Linked DNA regions of Homo sapiens: regions 1, 2, 4, 5, 6 and 7 are each linked to region 3. Evidence: promoter capture Hi-C in 16 types of primary human blood cells and fetal thymus (Javierre and others, 2016). All regions are on one chromosome and are shown on one strand. Each heading gives the region's core, a stretch centred on a gene start or on the middle of the fragment in contact. The rest is flanking DNA. Distances are from core to core; before and after follow the strand shown. Region 1 has its middle 28 kb from the start of KIF4B. Region 2 overlaps GEMIN5 (gem nuclear organelle associated protein 5). Region 3 holds the start of HAND1 (heart and neural crest derivatives expressed 1). Region 4 overlaps MRPL22 (mitochondrial ribosomal protein L22). Region 5 overlaps FAM114A2 (family with sequence similarity 114 member A2). Region 6 overlaps MRPL22 (mitochondrial ribosomal protein L22). Region 7 overlaps FAM114A2 (family with sequence similarity 114 member A2).

Region 1 (3,488 bases), core at 141-2,640, 510 kb after region 3:
GTCACAGTTGGATATTTCAGCCAGGATTTCAGAAGAAAAGTCTTCTAGTCAGTTTGAATTCCATCAATGAAGGTGTGCAGAGAACTCTTATGAATAACTCATCATGGCCAGCTCATGCCTGTAATCCCAACACTTTGGGAGGCTAAGGCTGACAGATCACTTGAGCCCAGGAGTTTGAGGATAGCCTGGGCAGCATGGCAAATCATCATCTCTACAAAAAATATAGAAATTAGCCAGGCATGGTGGCATATGCCTGTAGTCCTAGCTACTCAAGAGGCTGAGGTGGGAGGATTGCTTGAGTCCAGGAGGTTGAGGCTACAGTGAGCTGAGATGGCACCACTGCAGTCCAGCCTGGGTGACAGAGTGAGACCCTGTCTCTAAAATAAAATAAAAATAAATACCTAACTCATCATAGTGGACCTCCCATGTTTGTTCTTAAGACTTCCTACTCCTACCAGTGTGTCCACTATTTGAGGATGTGAACATTTGGGTATTTGAGTTCATTTCTGGTGAACAAATAGCATTTTGCACCAGGTTCTTGTCTTTCTAATCCATGTTGTTCTCACTCCTGTGGAAATTAATGAAGAATAATTAAATGTCAGATGCAAGTAAAAGTGGTGAAAAGCTTCAGAAAGTAAGAATTTATTGTCTTTTTCTTGGTAGGTATAGCTAGCTGAATTCAAGTAGTTTTAATAATCTTTTAGAGTGAATGGAAAGCATTTTTGTTTGTTTTTCCTTTTTTTGTAACAAAGAAAATTCAGTTTTAAAGTGTTTTTCAATTTCTCTCTGAGCTTTCTTTCATTCTCTGATTTCTTTGCTTCTCAGTGGGATAATATAAACCAATTTTCTGTTGTCTATTATTCATCAAAGCTGTCGATTTACCCTGAACAGAACGAAGAGAAGGATATTATTAAAATAAAACAATTTCCAATTGAGCTGCTAATAAATGCTGAAATGCATCTACATTTCTCCTATTGATTATCTCCTGCTGACAAAGGCAAACACAAGCTTGTATGGCAGGCTGCCCGTGGAAATGAAAGATTTAATTAGATGAAAACCGAATGAGCTGGAAGATCTACTGCACTCAGTCAACAAGCGATTGTTATTCATAATTGGCTGTTTAAAATGTCCCTGCTTATTGAGCCTTTTTCACTTAAAAAATTCCCTACAGTGCATTAAGATGAACGAAATCGTTAGTAAATTTTCCCCTGTGCATTCTGCAAGCTCAGGGTTGTGGACTAGAATGAGCCCTGTCAGGCCATAAATCAGGTGTAATACAACATCTTGAAATTGGGAACTAGCAAGCAAAAGCAGGGAGACAGTTTCCTCTCTATGTAGCCGTATGTCCAAGTGCTGAAGGTGGAAAAAGAGACGCTAGTGGAAGAGAGGTAAGAAGAAGCCCAGAAACTTAGGGAGTGGGATTCTTTAGAACTCACTAGCTCTGCAGGTGCCTGCATTTAAAATTTAGTGTCTGATAAATGCACTGATATTTAGTGAGGGGAGTATATTACAAAGTCGGTATTCATTTCACCAGGAGGATTTCAGATACCTCTCAAGTTCCCTGCTCTTCAAGACACAGTGGGGAAAAGAAAGATGGATGGAATTGTTGCCTGTGGCAGCCACGTGCCATTTAGCCTATACAAATGTTCCTTCTTGGAATCCCAAGCAAGTCATGAACGTTTGAAGGCTTTGGTTTCCTCATTCACACAATGGGGATATCGATTGCACTGTTCTAATCCATTCGCTATGAGGATTAAATGAGATAATGTAGGTAAAGCTTTTAGCACAGTGACTGGGAACATATAAGCCCTAAATGACTGTCAGCTATTCACAATAATAATTCACCTTCCACATCTATAGGCTCTTGAGGAGAAGACAGTATTTCCTCTGTTTCTTATATTTCCGATAGCATCTTGCCCAATGCCTTACACTTCTGCTCTCCATAAAAATTTTTGAATGAAAGCGAATGTCAATCTCTCAATCTTGAGGTTCTTAGAGATTCACATAGGAGTTGACCATTGTTCAACAAATACATGTTTAAAATCTGACTTTTAAATAAAATTTTAAGAGACAGGGTCTCACTTTATCACCCAGGCTGGAGTGCAGGGGCCTCATCTTGACTTCTCGGGCTCAAGGGATCCTCCGGTCTCAGTCTCTCAAGCAGCTGGGACTAAAAGTGCATGTCAACATGCACAGCTAATTTTAAAAAATTGTTTCATTTTGTCTTTCTTATTGCAAAAGAAGTGACAGCTGCTTCTTGGCAGAGACAGTGAAAACAGTGGTCAAGAGGGCAGATGTGTGGGAGCCAGACTGCCTGAATAAGCATTTCTTTTCTCTCCACCAATGGAACGATTGGATTGTAGAGGAATAAATAAATTAATACACATACAACACTTGGAACAGTGCCTAGAACATAGCATGTGCTCAATAAATACTAACTAGCATTGAACAAAATACAACAAAAAACAAGAGATCACTCATTCTCGGGATCTTGAGATAACTGCTAAGAAACAGTTATTGAGACCATACTATGTGAGTGACAGAGTGCTAGGCATTGTGGGACGTATATATTAATAGCCCACTGATTGAACTCTTAGTGATATCAGGCACTGTGCTCAGTGCTTTGCACATATTGTCTTATTTAATTCACACAACAATCCTACGAGGTAGGCATATTATTATCCCCTATTTTTGAGATGAGAAAACAGGACCAGAGAGGCTTGGTAACTTCTCCAAGGTCATACAGGTGGTAAATGATGGAGCTAAGATTCAAACACAGGTCTCTTTGATTCCAGAGTTAACCTTTATGCACATCCCTAGAAGCCTGATACTAAGTTAAGATGAGGCAGCCCAGATGAAAGAGACAAACATGACCTAAGTGAGGTGGGAGAGCCGGCAGAGGACAAAAAATCAGACAATTGTAATACATTTGCTCCATGCTATAACTGTGACTGTTATAATTAGGCCTCAGACACTTTCTTAACACAGTGATTTGGACATTTGAACAAAGCTGGCACATGAGATGAAACCTTCTGCCATTCCTAGCACAAGCTTTGTATTAAATACAGACTTAAGAAACTCAGAGGGATTCTTCTGAAAAACCTTTATGGAGTTCCTAATGACCAGGTCTGATTCTTCATGTCATATTACGCTGCATTTATGTGGCATCAGAATCTTGAGGCTAGATTTTTTTTTTGAGACAGAGTTTTGCTCTTGTTGCCCACGCTGCAGTGCAGTGGCATGATCTCGTCTCACCACAACTTCTGTCTCCCAGGTTCAAGCGATTCTCCTGCCTCAGCTTCCTGAGTAGTTGGGATTACAGGCATGCACCAGCATGCCCAGCTAATTTTGTATTTTTAGTAGAGATAGGGTTTCTCCATGTTGGTCAGGCTGGTCTCGAACTCCCGACCCTAGGTGATCCGCCTGCCTTGGCCTCCCAAAGTGCTGGGATCACAGGCATGAGCCACTGTGCCCAGCCCGAGGCTAGA
Region 2 (3,601 bases), core at 684-3,183, 440 kb after region 3:
CAGTCAAGGAAAGATGAGGTGGAAAAGGATAACCCTTTCTATCACTGCAAAGGTCATTCTCTCATAAAAAATCAAGTATAAAAAGTTATTCTCCAAAAAGTATATTTAGCTTTTAAAAATTCTAGCAATATCCTAACAATTCTTTTCTTAAAAAAATTAATTTTTAGAAATTTTAACTTTCCACACTACCTCAGTGTAACAATCTCCTAGCATTCTAACAATGCTTGATAAAATTGTGTTCATCAGGCATTAATGACAAATGATGATAGGGAGAAGCTAAAATAATTAACAGATCAATGGCTGAATTATGACTGTGTTACTATGATTAACACTGGTCAGGATACAGACCTAAAAAGCATTTCTGACTAGGCTTACTTTAAAAAAATGGAGATTTATGCAGTTCAACATAGGAGGTGACCATTTTGTGAGGGACAAGACAGCCAAAATACAGTGTAGCCAAATACTCTCAATGGGCTGAAAATATCTAAATAATTCTGTAGTTCTCAAAGACACAAGGCACTACTGGATCAGCGGAGGATATCAAGAATAAATCAAAATACCAAATACAACTGGGCCGCCCCAGCTAACATTACAGATGGCATTAGTCAGCTTGTGATCAAATATATGTGCGATTGCAAATTTTTTATCTTAAAGAAGCAAATACATACCCATCTTCATTGCCAAGAGCCATGATTTTGCCATCTGCTTTCCAACTTATCTCTGTGTGTACAGGCAATTTGTACTAGAAAGCAAAACAAACCAATCTTGACTATATACATATCTCACAAATCAGCAATGACAGCATGAGAAAAAAAAATCCCTAGAGTTTAAAAACGTTTTAATTATACAACAGCTATTCTTGTAAATAATCTACATAATTAGTAAAAGGATTACTAAGAACATGCATTCTAATTCTCATTTCCTAACTGGGCCAAAAAAACAAAACAAAAAAACCCCCAAGGCCAATAAGTACTAAATGTTTACAGTGCTTAACCTTGTGAAATATATACTTAATTAAACTGATCTGTGCCCATCAGCTTGGACAATGTGGGGACCATGAGGCCTTAAAGAAAACTATATACACTCTCCTTGTTTTCTATCCCTTCAAAGCTTCTTTCCCTGAATCATTTCCCTCCCATATCTATATGCTGGTATTCCCCAAGGCTGCCTGGGCCCTCTTCTCTTGTTAATTGTCTCTTTAACCCACCTCATACATGTCCACAGCTTCTTCAACTATCTTTATTGTGAAGGGATTCAAAATTTCTATATCCAGCTCAGACTCCTAGCATGAACCTCTGATCCACACATTCAAGTGCCAATAAATTAGAAGAGACTTAGGAACACGAATTTTGTCTCTTATTCATTGCTGAATGTTAATGTTTAGATAAAATTAAAGACAATGAGGGAATATAATCAACAATATAACCCAATTTATAACTAAATGTTACTTTTATACTAGCCATAAAAGTAATGAGCAATAATATAAAAATGCTCATTTGGGCTGGGCATGGTGGCTCATGCCTATAATCAGTACTTTGGGAGGCCAAGTGGGGTGGATCACTTGAGGCCAGGAGTCCGAGATCACAGCCTGGCCAACATGGTGAAACCCTGTCTCTACTAAAGACACAAAAATTAGCCAGTCTTGGCACGTGCCTGTAATCCCAGCTACTCAGGTGGCTGAGACATGAGAATCACTTGATTCCAGGAGGTGGAGGCTGCAGTGAGCTGAGATCGCACCACCGCACTCCAGCCTGGGCGACAGAACAAGGCTCTGTCTCAAAAAATAAATAAGTAAATAAATAAAAATACTCATTTGAAAGGGTAAGGAGGCCAAAGCAGGTGGATCACTTGAGCTCAGAAGTTCAAAACCAGCCTGGCCAACATGGTGAAACCCCATCTCTACTTAAAAAATACAAAAATTAGCTGGGCATGGTGGCCCATGCCTGCAGTCCCAGATACTTGGGAGGCTGAGGCAGGAGAATCTCATGAACCTAGGAGGCCGGAGGTTGCAGTAAGCCAAGATCACGCCACTGCACTCCAGCCTGAGTGACAGAGTGAGACTCTGTCACACACACAAAAAAGGGTAAGGAAATAAGGAAATCTCAACATTTAAGGTATGACTTTAAAAAGACAGTTCTGGCACATACTGATAGCATGAGAACACAAATGTAATTAAATGTGGGAATCTGGGTAAAGGATATAAGCAAATTATGTGTATTATTTTTGTAGCTTCGTGTAAATCTAGAATCATTTTACTAGAAAATTAAAAACAAAATGACAATTTTGTCTTGAGTAAAACACCATGCAGTTGCATTTGGATACTATATTATTGTTATTTTTACCACAGCATCACTTTGGTGAAAGTGGTTGGCCTGAAAAGGATGCTTTATACATAACACCTGAAAGTTTATAATAAATCATTGTTGCAATTGAGACAGACCTTTTTTTCAGTAGTTCTTTTTTGGCTTTTTTATTTTTTTGCCTCATACTCACTGTCTGAGAAGTACCTCTTTGTTTTATTCGAGGATAAAGACTCCTAAGATATATAACTCACAAATTCATGCACAGCCTTATAAGAACATTTAAGAAATCTGACTTAGTATGATGATGGTAATCTCCAATAACAGCATTTATTTTGCAAGATGGGAAACACAGAGGGATCTGTGATGTAAAAAGAAAATACTTCAGGACCACAAGAACTCACTTTGATTGAATTGGTGTCCCTGATGAGTTTGTTGATGTCAAAGGCTTCTCCACTAAGCTTCCAGGGATTATGCTGTAAGACAATCCCTTCTCCTCCACAGCTGTATAAAGCAAGGGAAGGTCTGTCTCCTTCTCCTCCTGTATGAAATAAGAAAAGAAACTTATCAGTTTTGTACTTCATCAGCTTAACTATTTGTTGCTATAGTATGACCATACCATACTACATAGTTGTTTTAAAAGAACTATATATTTGAAACATTCTAATACATTGGAATAAAATCACTGTTCTTTCCACCTGAACACAGTTGTTGGGAGCAGAAGTAAAAAAACTATACTACTATAATTCTAGGTTAATTTATGTGATGTAACATATTTGCTTTAAACAGTCTTCTGGTATTCATAATAATAGGGGTCCAAAAGCTGGGATCAGAAAACAAACATATATGTTCTCAAAAGCTTCTGAGAATTTGCTTTTTCTTCCAGAAATGAGTACTCTTTGGGAATTACATAGCACAGTAGGACTTTCTATGTCTTATAACAAAGAGATGTCATCAAAGCAGTGATTTCCTTAGTATCACAGCAATCTTCTTGTTAATTTTTAAGAAGCAAACAGTAATTCTGGTGGGTTTCTATAAGAGCAAGTTTTACTTTTACCACTGGTAGATCACAAATCAAATACCCAGTAAACATTTGTTGCATAAATGAACTACAAATTCCAATGCTACTTGAGTTCTGATAAATCTACTTATCCTCTCTATGTAATGCAATTCCTATAGAAATTTACAGATGTTTCATCATAGATGGTTAAGAAAAGTTTATCAGAGACTTTTGATGAATACACTTATGTAAAAAGCTAATAGAAAAGACTCATTACTTTAGGAATAAGAAAAAGAAAGAC
Region 3 (3,736 bases), core at 735-3,234:
AAATCCACGGTTCTCCCGCTCTCGCTGCACCCCACACACTTCCGCCAGCCTCCCAACCTGGTTTAAACATCAGGGCTTGGATGCAGGCTTGGGGCCCCCTAAGCCGGAGCTGGGAGCCTCAGATACGGAGGTAAAAGAGCGGGGAGTCGAGCTGGCCTAGCGTCCTCCTTCCCGCTCTTTCAGCAGGAACCAAGCGGTGCTACTTGAAGGAGGCGGCGACGCGTGGGGGCCGGGATCCGCCCAATAACAACTTCTTTCGAGGCGCCGCACCTCGAAAGAAGCCGGCCTGCACCATCCCCAGTCCGGGGCAGCCGTTTAGAGACTCGATGCCTATTTATCTTTCCCTCGTCCCTGGATGAGCTTTCGTCAGTTTACCACAGGCCCCCGCAGGTTGGATAAACCAGGTGGGGCGCTTCAGCTGGCTCCACTCCGCTACGGCCTTAAGCCCCCCAACCTAGAGAAACTGATTGGCCAGCCTGAAAACCCAGCGCTCAGAAGCCCCCAGCCCCGGACAGCCAGACCGAGTGCCAGGAAGTGTCACCCTAACCGGAGAGGATCAAGAAGGCCAAGACGAGACTGCGCTCTCCAAAGCTAAAAGAAGTGGCTCTTATTTACATGCAAAGCCACTGAAGTCGTCCTCAGAACCAGTCCATGGGGAGAACCAGAACTGGCCCTGGACTGAGTAGAAGACCCGATCTGTTTTACCTCACCTCCACCCTGGACTCCTCAGATAGGTGCTTTTCCTGCCCCGACCCACTCTGGGCCCTCAGTTTCCCTATTTATACAATGATGGAAGTAGACTAGCCGGTCCAGCAAAGGCCCTTTGAAAACAGGAACCGAGCCCGGGCACATAAATTCAAACTCAAAGTAAAGAACTTTAACACATATTCTTAACCTGGCTTCCAGGAGAGCCCAGGAATGAATCAGGACTTCTCCAAATTGGAAGCAAAACCTGTGGTGTGTGCATTTTTGGAGGGTCCGAGGCTCCAAACAGATTATTCACTCAGTATTACAAACACTCTCCCGTATTACAAATGAATTCTATGACGAATCTGCCTCCCTCCATGCACAGGATCGCACGCTGTGACCAACCATCTCAGAACTCTTCCCAACCTTTCCAAATCGGACACAGGACAACACAGCCTCCTTCGACTACCTGCATGGCCTGAGGCTGCTCACCGCTCCTGCACCCTTGGCTGGAGCATGCAAGCCCCAGGACTCACCAGCTCCCTTTTCCGCTTGCTCTCACGGCCGCCATCCGCCTTCTTGAGTTCAGCCTTGAAGGCCTCGGGATCGCCAGACTGTGCATCCTTGGCCAGCACGTCCATCAGGTAGGCGATGTAGCTGGTGGCTAGGCGCAGAGTCTTGATCTTGGAGAGCTTGGTGTCGGCCGGCACGTTGGGGATGCACTCGCGCAACTCCGCGAATGCGCTGTTAATGCTCTCAGTGCGTCTCCGCTCCTTCTTGGGTCCTGAGCCTTTCCGCCGGCCAAGACGGCCGCCAAGCGCCTCCAGCCGCCCGGGGCTCTGCCCAGGCCTGGCGTCAGGACCATAGGCGGTGGCGGCTGCAGCGGCCGCGGGCGGCGGCCCGCCCGCAGGGAAGTCCGGGGCAGCGTCAGCCGGGCTCAGCAGCCAGCTCTGGAAGTAGGGCCTTTCCTGATGACAGCGCGAGGCCGGACCGAAGAGGAAGGGTTCGTGGAGCATGGGGTGCGCAGGGTGCGGGTGGTGATGGTGGTGATGGTGTGCGTAGCTGCCCACGAGGTTCATGTTGGAGCGGCTACTGGCCTGCGCCGCCAGCCCTATTAACGCCGCTCCATGCGCCCCAGAGACTGCCGGGGGCCACCTGTGGGCTCTGGAGCCACTACTGGGCGCCGGCTTTGGGAGAGTCCGGGCAAGGCTGAAAATGAGACGCGCAGCCCACTGTCTTCTTACCGGTTTCTGCCGCGGGCGAGGTCGCCGAAGCCCAAAGACCTGTTTAACCCTTCTGCGGACTCCCCTGCGGATCTGGCTTATATAAGACCGCGGCTTTGATGTCAACCTCTCCCGGGAGCCAATGGCAGGGGGGCGGGGATAAGGAAAAGGGGGAGTGGCTATCCCAGGTTTTACGCTCAGCCCGCGCCACTCTAGTCCGCCAGCAGGGACTGGGAACCGGCCCCGCCTCTGCCCCTCCCACTCAGCTCCCTGCTCTGCGGGCTTAGGGGGGCGGGCTGCTGGGGGTGTTGAGGGGGCGGGCACGGGGACTACGTACTTGAGGCACAGGACGGCCAACGCCCTGGACTGTTGCTGCCACCCCCTCCCCACGGATCCAAGGAAAGGAATCCAGAATCACCAAGCGAAAAGAAGGCCTACACCTAGAGCCCGCCTTTTGATTTTACAGACAAGGAAACTGAGGCCCAGGGAAAGAAAGGTTCTTGTTTCTAGACTGTCTAGAAGTCTAAATAGGAATTCCAGCAGTTCCCAGTCCCGAGCTCCAACTGCTCTGCTCGGCGTCAGAGCTAGAAGATGAGAGGGCGCTGCTGAAGACAGGATAGGCCGCTAACGTTCTTCCCTAACACCTTCCAGCCCTCCGCCCCCACCCCCACCCCTTAGTCATCGGCCCTTTCTGGAGAGACTGGGAGCCGCTTGTGCACGGGGTCGTTACCAGCCCGCCAATTCTGACCCAGCCTCAGGCAGACGGGCACGCAGCTACTGACCAGCGAAGAAGCCTTTCGGAGGCAGGGGTAGGGGTGGGGCGGGAAGGAGGAGGCGGACTCCAGGCCCACGGGCATCGACGGGTTTGTTCCCGGCTTGAGGGTCTGAGATCCACTCCGGCCTCCCGGGTGCCTGATCCATTCCGAAGGCCAGCCCGGCTGGCGCAGAGACAGTCTGGCGTCCGCCTTGGGCCCGGGGCATCTGGCCAGCAGGTCTCCTCTGGTCTGTCCGCAGGACTCGCACCGAGACCTGGGAGCGCGGCTACGTCGGGCCGCTCTACCCAGATCATCACTCCTTAAGAATCTTTGGTTCTTTAAAGACACCGGCCCCGAAGCTCACACCTCGAGACACCAGCATTCGGCGTTAGACACACGCAGAGGGGACCAAGACTGCACAGCATCCGCGAGGCTCGCACAGGCAAACGCGACGTCCGGCATCTCTCACGCATCAGCGCAGAGGCGCGACTCGGCTGCACGACCCTCCGAGATTTCACCCCGGGGGTAGGGCCATTCCCTGCCAGCCGGACTCTCTCCACTGTGGGCTTTCCCCAGGCTCGCGTTGGAATCTGGGAATCCCGGAGTGGTGACGCTTCAAGCTGGGGACTCTCGGTCTTACCTCCCGCTGTGGTTCCTTTCTTGGCCGATGTCCACCTACCTGGGTCCCTCATTCTCTCAACCTTTCTCAGCTCAACGCCCCCTCCCTCGGTGTGGTAGAGGGAGTGTGCCTCTCTTCAAAGCAAAGTCGAGGGGAGGGGGAAAGGAGAAGTTAATGTGAGTGCTCTTTTTAGAAGGCAAATCATTCACCCATTCATTCAACAATTATTTATTGATGCCTACTATGTGCCTATCATAGTTACTAGTCCAAAGACAGAGGGAGAAAGGCCCATTCTCTCCTTGAACAGATATGGAACGTGAAGCCCAGAGAAGAAGAGCGATTTTCTCGAGGTCCGGTAGGGAGTGGATGAGTGGAATTCCACTCCTGGACAAGAGAGTGAATGAAGGGTGGGGGGTTACATACAGGAGTGACGGAGACAAAAGCCTGGGCCT
Region 4 (3,759 bases), core at 214-2,713, 470 kb after region 3:
TCAGTTGTAGGAAATTTTGAAGCTTTATACCAGAGCATTCTGTAGCCTTAGGACAAAAGCATTCATTAAAGGTTAGGGTAAGTAGTCGCTGTATTTCTCCCCAAAATAAAAAATCGGTATTTGAAAATTGATAATCTGATTGTAAATTTTCTGGTCTGTCCATTTGTTAGCATTGATTTTGGTTTAGTTCATAGGCTTTGCAGACAGATGAGTTGTATATGAATCCATTTTTTAACTGTGATCTTGGAAAAGTTACTTATTCTTAATAAGCTTCAGTTATCACTTTTATGATATGAGCGTTATGTTAGTACCTATCTCTTAGGATTTAAAAAATTTTTTAATTTTTATTTATTTATTTTTTTAGATGAAGTGTTGCTATGTTGCCCATGCTGGTCTCAAACTTAAGGGCTGAAACAATTCTCTTGCCTCAGCCTCCTGAAGTACTGGGATTACAGGCACATGCCATCTATGTAGCTCTAGTAGATTTTAAAAAGGAAATTCAAACAAGATAATGCATATGAAGTATTTAGTATGTTTATGGCATGTGATAATCCCACTCTGAATTCTAGTTGCCATTAATGTTTTTATTATTATAAATTATTACTGAGTTCCCAATTATATTTAACCCTTTTCTAAGTTTTTGGGTCCGAGGGGGATAAAGAGGTGGGCTAAAGAAGAAAATAGGAAGTAGTAGCTCTTAGGATTTGTCTGTACTCTTCTTAGATAATCTTCTATCACTCTTCCCCCAACCATGCTGATTTACTTACTTTTTCTGAATATACTTTGCACTTACTTGCTTCTTGGCTTTTCCTACTATGCCCTCACATCTTGTCTATAACAGCAGTCCTACCCATTATTCAAACCTCTGTTCAGATGTTTTCCCTTCAGGAAGTTTTCACTGGTTTCTCTAAAACGGAAAGAAATTAGTTTTTCCTTCCTTTTAGCATGTGTGCCTTCTATGATGACTTCATGTATATGTGTATGTGCCCTTTACTAGCTTGTGTATCTTGGAGAAGTAGGGACATTTATTTATTGTTGTACCTCCAGCATAAGGTCTTACACAGGCAAGTATTTTGATGTTGATTTGAATTGTCTTGCACCAACTTGTATTAAGAAGCTCTGAGCAAGAAACTTAAGCAGTTTGCCTTTAGTCTTTTCCTCTATGTCATGATACAAGAGTGTTTGATTTTGCTAGATAATCTCTAAGGCTATTTGCAATTCTGAAGTTATTACATAATTTTGTGAATCCTTATTTTGGATTTTCTAGTGGGGAAAATGACCATAAGAAAACTAAGTAGAAAGGTATAAATAATGTTCATGATAACCATGTAAAATTTTAGCATATAATCTGATTCAGTGATGAGAAACTTTTTTTTCCTTTTTTTTTTGGAGACACGGTCTCGCTCTGTGCCTAGGCTGAAGTGCAGTGCTGTGATCATAGCTCACTGCAGCCTCAAACTCCCGGGCTCCCACCTCAGCTTCCTAAGTAGCTAGAACTACAGGTGCATGCCATCACACCTGGCTAATTTTTAGGGTCTTGCTGTGTTGCTCAGGCTGGTCTCTAACTCCTGGGCTCAAGTGATCCTCCTGCCTTGGCCTGGAGGGATTACAGGCATGAGCCGCCAGGAAACTTAATTGCATATAGGCCCCAGACTAGAAATAAATAAACTAAGGGAAGTTGTCTATGTAAAATGAGAGTGGGAGGGCCTGTGGTGGTCAGTAGAGTGTATTCCTCATCTAAAAACATTGAATTAGGTTAAGAAAACTGCTGCTGACCAAATAAAACATTTCTGCAGGATATATATATATATACACACATATATGCACATATATACATATATACACATATATATACATATATACACATACATACATGTATATACACACACATATATATATAGATATTAAAATTTTTTTTTTTTTAAAGACAGCGTTTTGCTGTGTCACCCAGGCTGGAGTGCGGTATCATGATCATAGCTCACTGCAGCCTCGATTCAAGCCATCTTCCCAACTCAGCCTCCCAAGCAGCTGGGATCACAGGCGTGCACTACTACACCTGACTTTTTTTTGAGTTTTAGTAGAGACAAAGTCCTGTTATATTGCCCGGCTGGTCTGAAACTCCTGGGCTTAAGTAATCTCCCACCTCAGTCTCCCAAAGTGCTGGGATTACTCTGTAGGCTATATTTGTTAGCTGACTGACAGTTTTCAGTTTTTGAATTCCAAGTCTCCTATTTTACTGATGCATACATTTGAGAAGTTTTGTGACTTACTGAAGGTTACACAGTTAAATGTCAAAGTGAGGATCTAAACAAAATATTTTCTGGGACTACAGGTGCAGGCCGCCATACCTGGCTAAGTTTTGTATTTTTAGTAGAGATGGGGTTTCACCATGTTGGCCAAGCTGGTCTCAAACTCCTAGGCTCAAACGATCCGCCCGCTTTGGCCTCCCAAAGTGCTGGGATTACAGGCATGAGCCACCACGCCCAGCCAAAAAAATATTTTTTTTTAGGAGACAGAGTCTCACTATGTTGTACAGGCTGGTCTCGCACTCTTGGGCTCAAGTGATCTTCCCACCTCAGGCTCCCGAGTCTCTGGGATTACAGACGTGAGCCACCAAGCCTGTCTGTACCACCCTTTAGATGGGGGCATATCCTCTTAAGCTTTCCTCAGTTTCCAACCATGTGTAAAATTTTGGCATAGTTATTTACACTCAGTCCTCTTACCTTACCTGTCTCTGTATTCTTTCATTGATTCTACAAATATGTATTTAGTGCCTGCTCTGAGCTGGGAACTATTCTAGCACTGAGGATTTTGCAGGGAACAGGAACAGACAATAATCCCTTGCCATTGTGGGGTGTACAATATAGTAAGGGGGGCAAATAAGCAAAATAAGTAAAATATAGAGTATATTAGATAGTGACATCTGCTTATGAGAAAATAAAGCAGAGATTGAGAATAAGAAGTATGTGTGTTTGAGAGAGGAACTTGTAGTTTTAGATAGGGAAGGCCTCACTAAAAGATAATCTTTGAGTAAAGATTTGAAGGAAATGAGGAAGCATGCTGTGCTAACATCTGAACAAACAGCATTCTGTGCAGATAGAATAGTAAGTGCAACAGCTCCAAGGAACCATATCTGGTGTCAGGAACAATGACAAAAAGGAGAGGGATAGTGATAGGAGATGAGGTCAGAGAGGAAGGGGCAGTCATAAATCATATAGAGCCTTATTATTTTTTGTAAATACTTTGGCTTTTATTCTGAGCAAGATGGGAAACTGTTGTAAGGTTTTGAGCATGGAGTTATATGATCTGACTTATGTTTATGAGTGGTTCTTTCTGGCTGCTGTGTTGAGAATAGACTGGGGTGGGGATGGGGAGCAAGGATGGAAGCAGAGACCGTTGGCTATTTCAGGTATGAGATCATGGTGGCTTGGATTAGGGTGGCCGTGAAGGTAAGTGAATGGTTGGATTCTGGCAGTATGTTAACCACACCTGACAGATCTTGTTGATGCATTGGATGGGAGGTGTGAGAAAGAAGGGTGACACCAAAGTTTATGACCTGAGCAACTGGAAGGGTAGAGTTAACCACTTACTGAGCTAGGAAGACTTCCAGAGGAGCAGGTTTGGGGAGAATATTAGTAGGTCACTTTTGGGTTTGTTAAATCTGAGCTGTTGTAAGCATCCAAGTAGAGATACGAGTAGGCAATTGGGTATATGAGTTTATAGAGTTCAGGGAACGGATGTACATTTGGGAGTCATCAA
Region 5 (3,899 bases), core at 1,015-3,514, 480 kb before region 3:
CTGTCACAATATTGTGGTCAATTACTGAAAGAGGCTTTCAGAAGGCTATAAATCCTACACCTATAGAATTTCTAGCCCATTATGATAGCTCTTTTTCCATGGACTCAATGCGATCAGTGAGCACAATAACTGCTCACACACATAAACATCTTTCACACATATACTGCTTTCAAAGATGACAGTATAGATATATTTCTATCTTGAACAACATTTTTCAGAAGTGTTAGAGAATCATTACCCTCAGTTTGCTGGACTTCATTTATACTGAAAAGCCCTCACCTTTCAAAAGAATATCAACAGAGAGCTCATTAAGATAAAAATGTATAATTTCGAAGACAAGAGTGTTTCAAATCTGTATCCAAAAAAAAAATCCACTAAAAATAATAGGGAGCCCATATCAAGTGATATTACCTTTTTAAAATTTATCAATGGCAAGTACTATTTAAAATTCAGTGTGACATTTAATACTCAATTTCCCACACAAAAGGGACCTCAGATATCGTCTAGTTAAATCTCTTATGTTGCACATGAAAATAACGAAGTTTGTCAGAGTCACACAACAAATCAAGGAAGATCCAGGGCAACACGGGGCTCCTGGTTTACAAAGTCTTTTCTACTGCACCACTCTGCCATTTACTAAATCACAAACTTATATTTTTAAAAATTATTACAATGATCAAAATAGTTTCCCTGACTACTTGATTAAAACTGTGTAATTAAAGAATTAAAATCATTTCCTTGATGGTAATGTCAAAAGAATTTAAAACTAGAGAAGTAAGAGTTTGGTAGTTAAAACATTTTTTCAATTAACATCTAAAACTTAACTATCAAATATATTTTCTCCCCCCAGACTTACATAAACATGTTTTAAACAAATCATCAAAAAGTCTATGTTGTCTGCACAGTTAGTTTACAAGGTAGAGTTCTTAAAACATGGAATCCAGAAAACATCACATAGGGAGGTAATATAATCAGTCACAGGATCCTCTTTTCCATTGACTTAAACCATCTACCTTCTCAAATCTAATGGAATGATGAGGATAATGTAAACACTACCTTTCTGACAAAACAAAGCATGATTTCCTGGCAAGGAAATGACAACATGTTTTGTTTTGTAACAAACCTCTGCATAAACTTTAGTCCTAAATTAGGAAGCAGTGCTTACCTGTTTATAATTTTCAGCCCTTCATGTTTACCAGCTGGTATTCAGAAGGTGTTTCATTACTGTGAACCGTCCATTAAGCTGTCAAGGATTAGTACTAAGTAATGACAATCTACTGCTTCTTCCAGTACCCTGCAGCTTCAACTGTATGCTTTCTAATTAATAAGGAAGGAATACACATCAAATATACACTATTTCTGTCATATCTACATCAATATGGCTAAACTACCAATATGGTGAATAAAATAAAAAAGCCAAAAGCAAAAGGCTTCAGAAGAGTTAATTATACGTAATACCTTTGGAGTCAGAGACTTAAAAACAATTACTAACCTCTAGAAATACTGCAGTGATTAATGGGTTAAGGACATCTGCCATTTCTTTGACCTGGAATAACGAATACATTTTTAAGTGAGCAGAGTAGGTTAAATAACAGTAAGTGGAGTACGATCACACTTTAAAACACACACACACACCCATACATAAATATTAAATATAAGCACAGAAGTCTGGACTGAGAGCAAAATGTCATCTTTAGAATGGAAATTCTAAGTGTTTTAAACTTCTTTCTTAATATCTTTCTGTGCTATCCATATTGACAGTGTATTGTTTTATACCTTTTTATTGACTTTAAAAAGTATCTTCATTTGACCACAAAACCTTAGAACCATTTTAAAACAAAACATGTAGATATGGAACATGTGCTCAAAAAACTCAAGGGTCTTTAACACAAGCTGTTTAGAAAAATCTTACAAATAAATAATGTAAATTTAATACTTGTATGTGTCAGCATCTTATAGTTGATATGCTGGCTTAAAGTATCTTTATGGAACACACAGAAAGATTTGGCCTTGTAAGATTAACTTCAGGAAACCCAGATCCTTTTGTCAAGAAAATACTACAGGGAAAAGTGAAGCTGTACCAAAAGATTATCCTTTACAGGAATAATCTAAACTCAAATTTTAAAAAATTAACTTAGGCCATGGTCTTAATTAAAACAAATGTAATGTTCATGACTAGGGCTTTAAAATAAATAAATAAATAAAATTTAAGAACCCACAGTAATTTTGCTGCTACACTGACACTGATATACTTACTATAAAGTAATTTTCATTTGCTTGTTTAAAATGCTCTTGATTTTATCCCAACTCATTATTACTGGTTTCTCAATCATCTTCCATAGCTCACACATCTTCATAAATTTTTACAATTCCAATTTTTAAAATCCCCAAAAGACTTTAGCTTTAACTACTTCTCTCCCACCGGCTGGCAACTGCATACTGTGAGCACTGCCATAGTCTAAGTACAGAGTTGCTCTTTAAAACCAGAGTCAAAATCTGAAGTTTGAATTTTATCAAGGTCTATATTTCCATTATAGGTCTCAGAAGATAGCATAAAAAATACTGAAAACTTCATAAACAGAAGAAAACAAAAATTAATTAGAATTAGACATAGACAAGCTGATCCTAAAAGTCATATGAAAATGCACAAGGCCCCAAGCAGTCAAAAAATCTTGAAAATAAGAACAAAGTTGGAGGACTTACACTTCTTGATTCCAAACCTACTACAAAACTACAATATCAAGACGATATGACACTGGCATTTGGATAAACATACAAATTAATGGACTAAAAATCAGAGTCCAGAAACAAACCCATATATCTATGGCCAACTGATTATCAACAAAGAAGCCAAGAGAATTTAACGGAGGAAAGAACAGTCTTTTCAACACATAGTACTGGAACAAACGGATATCCATATGCAAAAGCATGAAGCAGGGCCCCCTACCTTACACCATACACAAAAATTAACTCAAAATGGATCACAGACATAAATGTAAGGGCTACAACCAAACTTTTAGAAGAAAACAGAGGAGTAAAATTTCACTGCAAAGGACACGATCAAAAAGCGAAATGACAACTCATGGACTTGGAGAAATACGTTCCCATCAAAAATCTGATAAGAAACTTGTACTAGGAAAATTAAAAAAAAAAAAAAAAATCTCCTACAAGTAATAATAAAAACACAAACAACCCAAGTTTTAAAACAAGTAAACTGCTGAAATAGATATTTCTCCAGAGAAGCCAGACAAATAGCCAACCAGCACATTAAAAGATGTTCAACATTGGCGCTGGGCACGGTGGCTCATGCCTGTACTCCCAGCACTTTGGGAGGCCAACGCAGGTGGATCACCTAAGGTCGGGAGTTCGAGACCAGCTTGGCCAACATGGTGAAACCCTGTCTCTACTAAAAATACAAAAATTGGCTGGGCATGGTGGCAGGTGCCTGTAATCCCAGCTACTTGGGAGGCAGAGGCAGAAGAATCACTTGGACCCAGGAGGCAGAGGTTGTAGTGAGCTGAGATCATGCCATTGCACTCCAGCCTGGGTGACAAGAGCAAAACTTAAAAAAAAAAAAAAAAAAAGAAAGAAAGAAAAAAAGATGTACATTAGGGAAATGTAAATCAAAACCACAATGAGATACTATTTCATACCCACTAGGATGGCTAAAATAAAAACAAACAATAAGTATTAGCAAGGATACGAAGAAACTGGAACCCTTACACACTGCTGGTGAGAATGTAAAACTGTGCAGCCAATTTGGAAAACAGTTTGGTAATTCCTTAATGACCCATATCACCCATATGACCCAGCAATTCCACTCCTAGCTATCTACCCAAGAGAAATGGAAACATATTCACATAAAAACATACATGCATGTTCATAGCAACATTATTCAT
Region 6 (3,900 bases), core at 660-3,159, 490 kb after region 3:
AGGGGACGCGCCGTGATGGGGTTTCCTTATAAAGTGATTTGTGTAATGCTGCTTTCTCTGGAAATTTGTAAACTCATTTTTTCAGTGCCCACTAAATGAAGTTAATAAAAGGGCAGTAGGTCTTTCCCTATCTCACTTAGACCCTAGGCAGTTTTCACTTTCATTCTTGGCTTTCTCTTTGGCAAAGCTAGGAAGCTTCTGCTGAAACCCACTTCACTAGAGGATATCGTAGTTAGAGAGTTGTCAAGTGCATACTTTGGTATAGTCCCTATATTTATAAAGTATGTCACAGTAAGTGTATAAGAATGATGAGTGTTGAAATGGATAATTTGATATGTATTCTGTAGATTTTACCTTTTTAAAAGGCTTATTAACTAAACAAGTAGCTGACTAAATACATTCAGAAAATAGTAGAAGGTAGATGGCTACTACTCTGACTTATTGTGGGTGAACAGGTGAACAGTTCTTCTTATGTACTATTTTTTTTTTTTTTTTGAGATGGAGTCTTGCACTGTCACCCGGGCTGGTGTGCAGTGGTGGATCTTGGCTCGCTGCAACCTCTGCCTCTCGGGTTCAAGCGATTCTCTTGCCTCAGCCTCCCAAGTAGCTAGGATTACAGGTGCCCACCACCACAACTGGCTAATTTTTTGTATTTTTAATGGAGATGGGGTTTCACTATGTTGGCCAAGGTTAAACTCCTGACCTTGTGGTGATCCGCCCGCCTTGGCCTCCCAAAGTGCTGAGATTACAGGTGTGAGCCACCGCGCCTGGCCCTTACATGCTATTTAAAAGATTTCTTTACACTTTCAAGGTCAAATTTTGATATACAGAATGGGGGAGGGGAGCTGAAGGGGCCGTTGTGCCAGAGTTCCTAAAACTGGCTGTCAGTCAGAATTTCTGGGGAGAGTTGGGGTACGGGTGTTTGCCCAGGATGTAATTTCCAAGGCCCACCCCAGATATACTGAATTAGAATCCACAGAGGTGAGGTCTCAGCATCTGCATTTTAATTACATTCCCTAGGTTAGTCTGATGTAGCTTGTCAGAGAACCAGCATTTGGGAGCCATTGACTCCAGTGGCTTCTCATCACAATTAGAATAAAATAAAAAACTCCTTGCCTGAGCCTACAGGACCTTGTGTAATCTTGCCCTAGCTTTATCTCTAATCTCTTTTCCTTGTTTGTGCTTCTCTTCCCCTTGCTTACTATGCTTCAGCATGGTAGTCTTCTTTCTTTTCCTAAAACAAGCCGAGTGCATTCCCACCATTGGGCCTTTGCACTTGCTGTTTCCTCTGCCTGGAATACCCTGTCCCTAGATATTCAAATAGATGATTCATTCTGCTCTTAGATCAAATGTCTCTTTCTCAGGGATGCCTCTTGACACTCCCAGTCTGAAGTCCCTTACACCCCATCATTGTCTGTCATCTCATTCTGATTTATTCACAGCACTTGTCACTAGCTGAAATTATCATTTTATTTTACGTCTTTCTTCTCCAGAATGTAAACTGCTTGGAGGCAGGGGCCTTGCCAGTCTTGTGCACTCTTACTTCTCCAACACTAGAATAGTGCCTGGTCCTTAGTTAGCATTCAGGAGATAGTTGTTTTGAGACAAGCCTGCTCTAGCCAACCAGTGAGCCCATGTAATCTCAGAATCCAGTCAAGGAAAGGACAGAAATTGCTCAGCTGATCAGGCTTGTGGATAACACTCATTTCCTGTAATTCTCTTTTTCTTCCTGTTTAGCTGAGTCCACCTCAGGACGAGGCCAGTGCCTGAAACGCATCCGCTACCATGGCAGAGGTCGCTTTGGGATCATGGAGAAGGTTTATTGCCATTATTTTGTGAAGTTGGTGGAAGGGCCCCCACCTCCACCTGAGCCACCAAAGACGGCAGTTGCCCATGCCAAAGAGTATATTCAGCAGCTTCGCAGCCGGACCATCGTTCACACTCTATGATGAGGAGATTCAGACTCCACAGTGTATATATTTTGCCATTTATTTTCTAAAAATAAACAAAAATTGAAGGCAAATGCTTTTTATGATTTCTCATTGAATTATTGAAACAGTGTATAACTGCTAGTTGTAAATGAATATTTATAAGGCTTTGCCCATTTCTTTTGAGCCTCTGGGCATATTTGTATGCATTTGCGACTTGGAAGGGGAAATCAGCTTTAAACATAGTAACAGACTATATTTCAAAAGGCTTTTGGAGTAACTTTGAAAGGGAATGTTAACTTTCCAACTAGTGTCCTGCAGGTGGCTGTTTTGATACTGGACTTGAATACAGTGTTATGAGGTAAGAAAATTGCTTTTATTTCACTTAATTTTCTCTTGGGACCATGGGAAGTTAGAGTGGCTGCATGTTGTTTCATTACAGTATTTTAGGGTGTTCAGTGGTACCGTTTTTCCTTTCACTGTTGGCACAGGCCAGTGAGTCAAAAATTATATTTTCCTTTACTGTTTTAGCAGTAACTCGAAACTACAGGAGTTTATTAGATATACGAATCTAAAACTCCAAAAACCTTTAACTTTGAAAATTTTCTTTTGGTTAAGCAAAGCCTGTTTTTATTTCTTCTTCCAACAGTGCTTTATATTGTTTGGATATCTTGTTTAGGATTGATTTATTTTTCAGGGTAAATTCAATTACTGAGAGAGGAATTGAACCAATCTCAGCATTGCATTCTAAAATGGGGCAGTAGGTGGCACTCAACCTTTTATTAGCAGAAAATTGTTAGTTTCAAATTAGAGTGTTCAACACTGCTTCCCTCTCATTCATACACGTCTTCATTAAGAAGAAGTACTCTTTGTCTACAGCCCTAGTCCAACTTTTGCATGCAAAAGAAGAATCGAGGATGCTTGCTTGTTAATGCAGACTTCTGGGCCCCACCCCAATGATTCAATTCACTAGGTCTTATGGGGGGCTGGTTTCAGAAATCTATGTTTTAAACAAACACTTCCAGGTAATTCTGTTGTAGGGGACTACGCTTTGAGAATACGGCTTTAGGAGAATGAAAAAATGTAGTTTTATTGCCATGTTTTAAGATGGCATTAATAATAGTTACTGTTTACTGGGAACTTGTTATTTGCAAGCTCTGTGCTAGTATTTTACATAATTCTTCACAACATCCTGAAAATGTAGCTTTTGTTTTACCACTTTACAAAGGAATAAACCGAAGCACACAGAATTCAAATAACTATCACAAGTCACACAGCATGTAAATATTGGGGCTATGATTGAAAGGTTTCTAAAGTAGCTGGTTCTGCATACCTTTTGAGTATACAGCTGGGTTTTTGTGTCTCTCCAGTTAACCTAATGCATGGGTAAAAAGACATCAGGGGTCAGTGGAATAAACCAAGGTGTAGGACAGATTCATTCTGGGTCCTAAGCTGTTGTAGCATGGAGTCAGGGAAATAACACTGGAATATTAAAAGGTAACCTTCATTCTAGTCTGTGCATTCTCATTAGCCAGAAAGAAGACTGGATAGGTCTCTTCCCTTGCTGGCCTCCATTTCATTCATTTATGAAACAAGAGACTCAATGTTCTCTGTAGAAAACCTTTTTTAGAATCACTTGAAGAATTTGTTTAAAAATGCAAATTCCTGGGCTCTACTCTCAGACTAAGTGAATCAGAAGCTTTGGTGTGGGAGACCATGGAACCTGCAGTTTTAATAAATGCCCCAGTGATTTGCATGTTGGAGAATTATCACACCAGGTCACTGTGCTCTCATGTGGTGGGGATGCTCCACGATTGCTCTTGGAGTTGTGACTTCCTTGGGTGTGACTAAAGCCAGGTGGTGCCATGGACATCATAAATATAAATTATGTAAGTGAAGGCACTGCTTCAGTCAGGCTGTAAAAGCTATTTTGAAAGTGGTAAGGAAAAAGTAGGATTGTAATGAAGAAAAT
Region 7 (3,499 bases), core at 993-3,492, 450 kb before region 3:
TGGCAATTATACTTTACGTCAGCCATCTCATTTCCTGACCCATCTCATTTCCTGATAATTTTGCAAATATACATAGTATCTACATTTACATTTTCTGAGAAATGAAGATATTAAAATATGGTATAAGAGTTTTCAAAATAAAAAAAGACAAACTATCACCCACATTTTAGATAACTGCCATCCTGCATGCTTCAATTCAAGACAGAATCAGGGGTTACAAGAGTCAGAGAGGCAGAGGTAAAGTACCTAGGAATATGAAAGCTCATATGAATGACCAGTCAAACTGAGGCAAGAATCTGATGAGAACAGCTTTCTAACTGCAAAAATAGGCAAAGATGTGAGTTGCAAGATTAGACCTTGAGAAGCCACAAAGGGTTTGGTTGGAAGGAGGCAGGGAGACATGGGCATAAGGCCAACTGCCCCCATCAATGCCTAGTCAGGTGCAAGGCTGCAGAGAATTTTACACAGAGAATTTGCATAAAAATTTTCACCAAAAAAGTAAAATCAAGCCAGTGTAATAAGAGTAAATAATTTATTTCAAGGGCAATGCACTGCATACAAACACACTGCATCCTCTCCACTCAGATACTAAATTTTCATATTACCTTTTTTCTCTTCTTCCTCTTCTTCACAAAATTCTGCTAGAGAAAATGTTTCTTTGAGTTGCTCTAATTCAACTTTTAGAGTCTCTAATTCTTCTCCACTCAGAGAATTAAGGATAGATTTCACCTGAATGGATACAAGAACAAAATGTTGTAGGAGTATGAAAGAAAAGAAAAACATTCACAAATAGGGAAGAGACTATAAAAAGATCATATTGAAGTCAAAATTATGAGCTCATCAGCCAGCACAAGTTATTCCTTAAGAACCTTAACACAAGAGGCTGGTTATGACAGAAAGGTAGGGAGACTCTGTGCTTCTAAAAGTAATACCAGCCAGAAATTCCTGGAAATTATCAGTGTTTAGCAACAGCTTAGAAATAACAAAAAAATTAGATAATCTTAAATCAATTAAAAGCTAACAGGTAACTGTACACAAATTGGCAGCTCAAGTCAACAGGTTTCTTGGCAGCCTAGGCCAAAGAAACTAAAAAAAAAAAAAAAAGACCAAAACGAAGGAAAAATAACACATGTCCTATTAAGACCTCTTTGTTAACCTTTTTTGTTTAAATTTAAAGAAATAATACTTGACTAATTCTGCTTTTAGCAATTAGTTCAATCAAACATTAGTTTTTAAATTTATTTTGTGGTAGTATTTCGAAGGCATCTCAAGCCTCTAACAAAACATACACTTCATCTTCCAAATGTACAAAGAGAAAGGAAACCATGCAGCATTCTTTTACTTGAAGACTTTTTCCAGTTGAGATTTTGGCTTGGAATTACCTTTATTTCACTTTCTTGGGAAAGCATCTCCAGAGCTTCTAGATGTGAAAGGCCTTGAAATTCATCAAAGAGTAGCCCATAATGAGTTTTCTTGTCTGTTTCCACGGTAACCTCATTGGAGGTCCGTATCTCTTCTTTCTCCTTCGCCTCTCGTAAAACCTAAAAAGAGATGGAGGCATTACACTGTAGCAAACAATGAGAGCTCAAGGGTGAGTTCTGAGAATTGAAGGAAGCAAAGCTTAGACAGGTTAGAGTACAGAGGATTGCCCTTTCATTCTTGGCACTGCTATTCAAATCTGGTGGGCTCAGGAGCTGCAGAAAGAAAAACGATCACACATAATTTGAGACGGAGTTTCACTCTGTCACCCAGGCTGGAGTGCAGTGGCACGATCTCTGCTCACTGCAACCTCTGCCTCTCGGGTTTAAGCTATTCTCGTGTTTCAGCCTCCCAAGTAGCTGGGATTATAGGCATACGCCACCACGTCCAGCTAATTTTGGTATTTTTAGAAGAGACGGGGTTTCATCATGTTGGTCAGGTTGATCTTGTACTCCTGACCTCAACTGATTCACCTACCTCGGCCTCCCAAAGTGCTGGTATTACAGCCGTGAGCCACCGTGCCTGACCACATAATTTGATCCTAGACAGTGCAAATCACACCCAAGGAACCAGGTGTTTCTCTGAAAGTGATTTAAACATTAAAACAAACAAACAAACAAACAAAAAACCCTGACAGGGTTTAGCATTTTGCACTGCACTGATGGGAGGCTCCTGCAGAAAGAGGAGGAGAAAAAGAGCTGGGTATTTTTGTAAGCAGTAGAGCTCTCACCCATCCCTGATCCCCCCAAAAAAACGCCTGAATAAACATTATTGAAAATGCTTGAAAAGAAAACACTAACAAGGTTCCAAGTAAACAAAGGCAAAAATACAGATCAAAACAGAAACAGGAAGTAAACAGGTAAGGATAATCAGTACCTGAGATAGTGTAGCATTTCGGTTCATCAGACCCTTGGTTCTTTTAAATCCAGGATCCCCTTCTGCTATCACATCCATTGTCTTTTTTCCAATGAATTCTAAGGCATCCAAACCCCCACTTATAACACTCTTTCCCTAGAAAATACATGCAACCTCATTACAACAATATTAAGAAAACATATTTTTATGCATTTTTATTATGTATTTATTATATAAAAATAGTGGCTAACAATACCAAGCACTGGCAAGAATGTAAAGCAAATGAAACAATCACACACTGCTTGTGGGAACGTAAATAGGTATAACCACATTAGAAAACTGTTTGTCAATATCTACTCCAGCTGCATGACCCAGAAATTCCACTCATGGTTACATCCTAACAGAAATAAGTACAGAGGTTCATCAGAAGACATGCACAAAAATGTTCATAACAGCTCTGCTTGTAATAGCTACAAACTGAAAACTACCCCAATGCTCACCAACTGTGGAATGAATAAATAAAACGTGACAAAGCTTCACAATGAAATACAACAAAGAAAATCAAATCTACCACACAAACTGCAGCATAGGTAAATTATACAAATATAATGTTGCATGAAAGAAGTTAGATACTATATATGATTCCACTTATGTAAAGCTGAAATGCAGGCAAAATTAACCTATGATGGTGGAAGTCAGGATTATGGTTATCTTGGTGCAGGAGAGGGGGAGAGCAGAAGACACAGAAAACTGGGAGAGGACACAAGATGGTGGGGAGATCTGATTACGGTAATACTGTTTCTTACTCTGGGTGTTTCACACTGAAAATTCAAACAACACTTGTTACATTCTTCTGTATGTATATTTCAATAAAAAGTTAAAATTTAAAAAAAACTAGCTATCTATCCTCATGTAGCAAAGATATTTAGCTTCCTAGATAATCCTCTTACAAATGTTTTTAATCATACATAGTTTTGCAAATATCTGTCATAAAGATCACATTTCCCCTTTGCCTAAAAGATGCAACTATGAGAAAAATATTTTTGTAAAGTAGACATTTTTTAGGGCCACCAAATTAAGAATTCCTAATCCATAAAATAATACGTATATTGCCTCTCTGTAACTCCTACTCCCTTATTTATTGCTACTCCTTTATTTCCTACTT

The links. Contacts are between HindIII fragments. The CHiCAGO score rates a contact against its expected background, and 5 or more counts as called.
Region 1: a contact is called between a fragment that was not itself captured here and the fragment with the promoter of HAND1 in region 3, in 3 of 17 cell types (neutrophils, monocytes and non-activated CD4 T cells). The highest score is 8.4, in neutrophils.
Region 2: a fragment that was not itself captured here is called in contact with the fragment with the promoter of HAND1 in region 3 in 4 of 17 cell types (neutrophils, activated CD4 T cells, total B cells and 1 more); the score reaches 6.3 in neutrophils.
Region 4: a contact is called between a fragment that was not itself captured here and the fragment with the promoter of HAND1 in region 3, in 1 of 17 cell types (naive B cells). The highest score is 5.6, in naive B cells.
Region 5: a fragment that was not itself captured here is called in contact with the fragment with the promoter of HAND1 in region 3 in 9 of 17 cell types (megakaryocytes, neutrophils, activated CD4 T cells and 6 more); the score reaches 7.0 in megakaryocytes.
Region 6: a fragment that was not itself captured here is called in contact with the fragment with the promoter of HAND1 in region 3 in 4 of 17 cell types (neutrophils, activated CD4 T cells, total B cells and 1 more); the score reaches 9.0 in neutrophils.
Region 7: a contact is called between a fragment that was not itself captured here and the fragment with the promoter of HAND1 in region 3, in 7 of 17 cell types (total B cells, activated CD4 T cells, megakaryocytes and 4 more). The highest score is 10.6, in total B cells.

Annotation. Positions count from the first base shown.
Region 1 is chr5:154,984,060-154,987,547 of GRCh38, forward strand. No RefSeq gene overlaps it. Among named protein-coding and RNA genes, the nearest start is that of KIF4B, 28 kb to the right of the region's middle. The HindIII fragment of the contact is 769 bases long and covers 1,007-1,775 here.
Region 2 is chr5:154,917,263-154,920,863 of GRCh38, forward strand. GEMIN5 (gem nuclear organelle associated protein 5) reads right to left here. Exons shown (of 28, transcript NM_015465.5): 11 at 2,705-2,841; 12 at 669-742. Among named protein-coding and RNA genes, the nearest start is that of GEMIN5, 19 kb to the right of the region's middle. The HindIII fragment of the contact is 1,651 bases long and covers 1,109-2,759 here.
Region 3 is chr5:154,476,243-154,479,978 of GRCh38, forward strand. It overlaps HAND1 (heart and neural crest derivatives expressed 1), which reads right to left and starts at 1,985. Exons shown (of 2, transcript NM_004821.3): 1 at 1,224-1,985. The coding sequence starts at 1,766. RefSeq lists enhancers at 1-659, 3,433-3,736. The HindIII fragment of the contact is 6,833 bases long and covers 1-3,736 here.
Region 4 is chr5:154,941,769-154,945,527 of GRCh38, forward strand. The region is part of intron 2 of MRPL22 (mitochondrial ribosomal protein L22); the gene reads left to right. Among named protein-coding and RNA genes, the nearest start is that of MRPL22, 2.6 kb to the left of the region's middle. The HindIII fragment of the contact is 2,390 bases long and covers 269-2,658 here.
Region 5 is chr5:153,993,427-153,997,325 of GRCh38, forward strand. FAM114A2 (family with sequence similarity 114 member A2) reads right to left here. Exons shown (of 14, transcript NM_018691.4): 13 at 1,493-1,546. Among named protein-coding and RNA genes, the nearest start is that of FAM114A2, 44 kb to the right of the region's middle. The HindIII fragment of the contact is 4,597 bases long and covers 1-3,899 here.
Region 6 is chr5:154,964,949-154,968,848 of GRCh38, forward strand. MRPL22 (mitochondrial ribosomal protein L22) reads left to right here. Exons shown (of 7, transcript NM_014180.4): 7 at 1,738-3,900. The coding sequence ends at 1,949. Among named protein-coding and RNA genes, the nearest start is that of MRPL22, 26 kb to the left of the region's middle. The HindIII fragment of the contact is 3,432 bases long and covers 194-3,625 here.
Region 7 is chr5:154,025,794-154,029,292 of GRCh38, forward strand. FAM114A2 (family with sequence similarity 114 member A2) reads right to left here. Exons shown (of 14, transcript NM_018691.4): 6 at 2,356-2,490; 7 at 1,383-1,541; 8 at 606-729. Among named protein-coding and RNA genes, the nearest start is that of FAM114A2, 11 kb to the right of the region's middle. The HindIII fragment of the contact is 1,248 bases long and covers 1,619-2,866 here.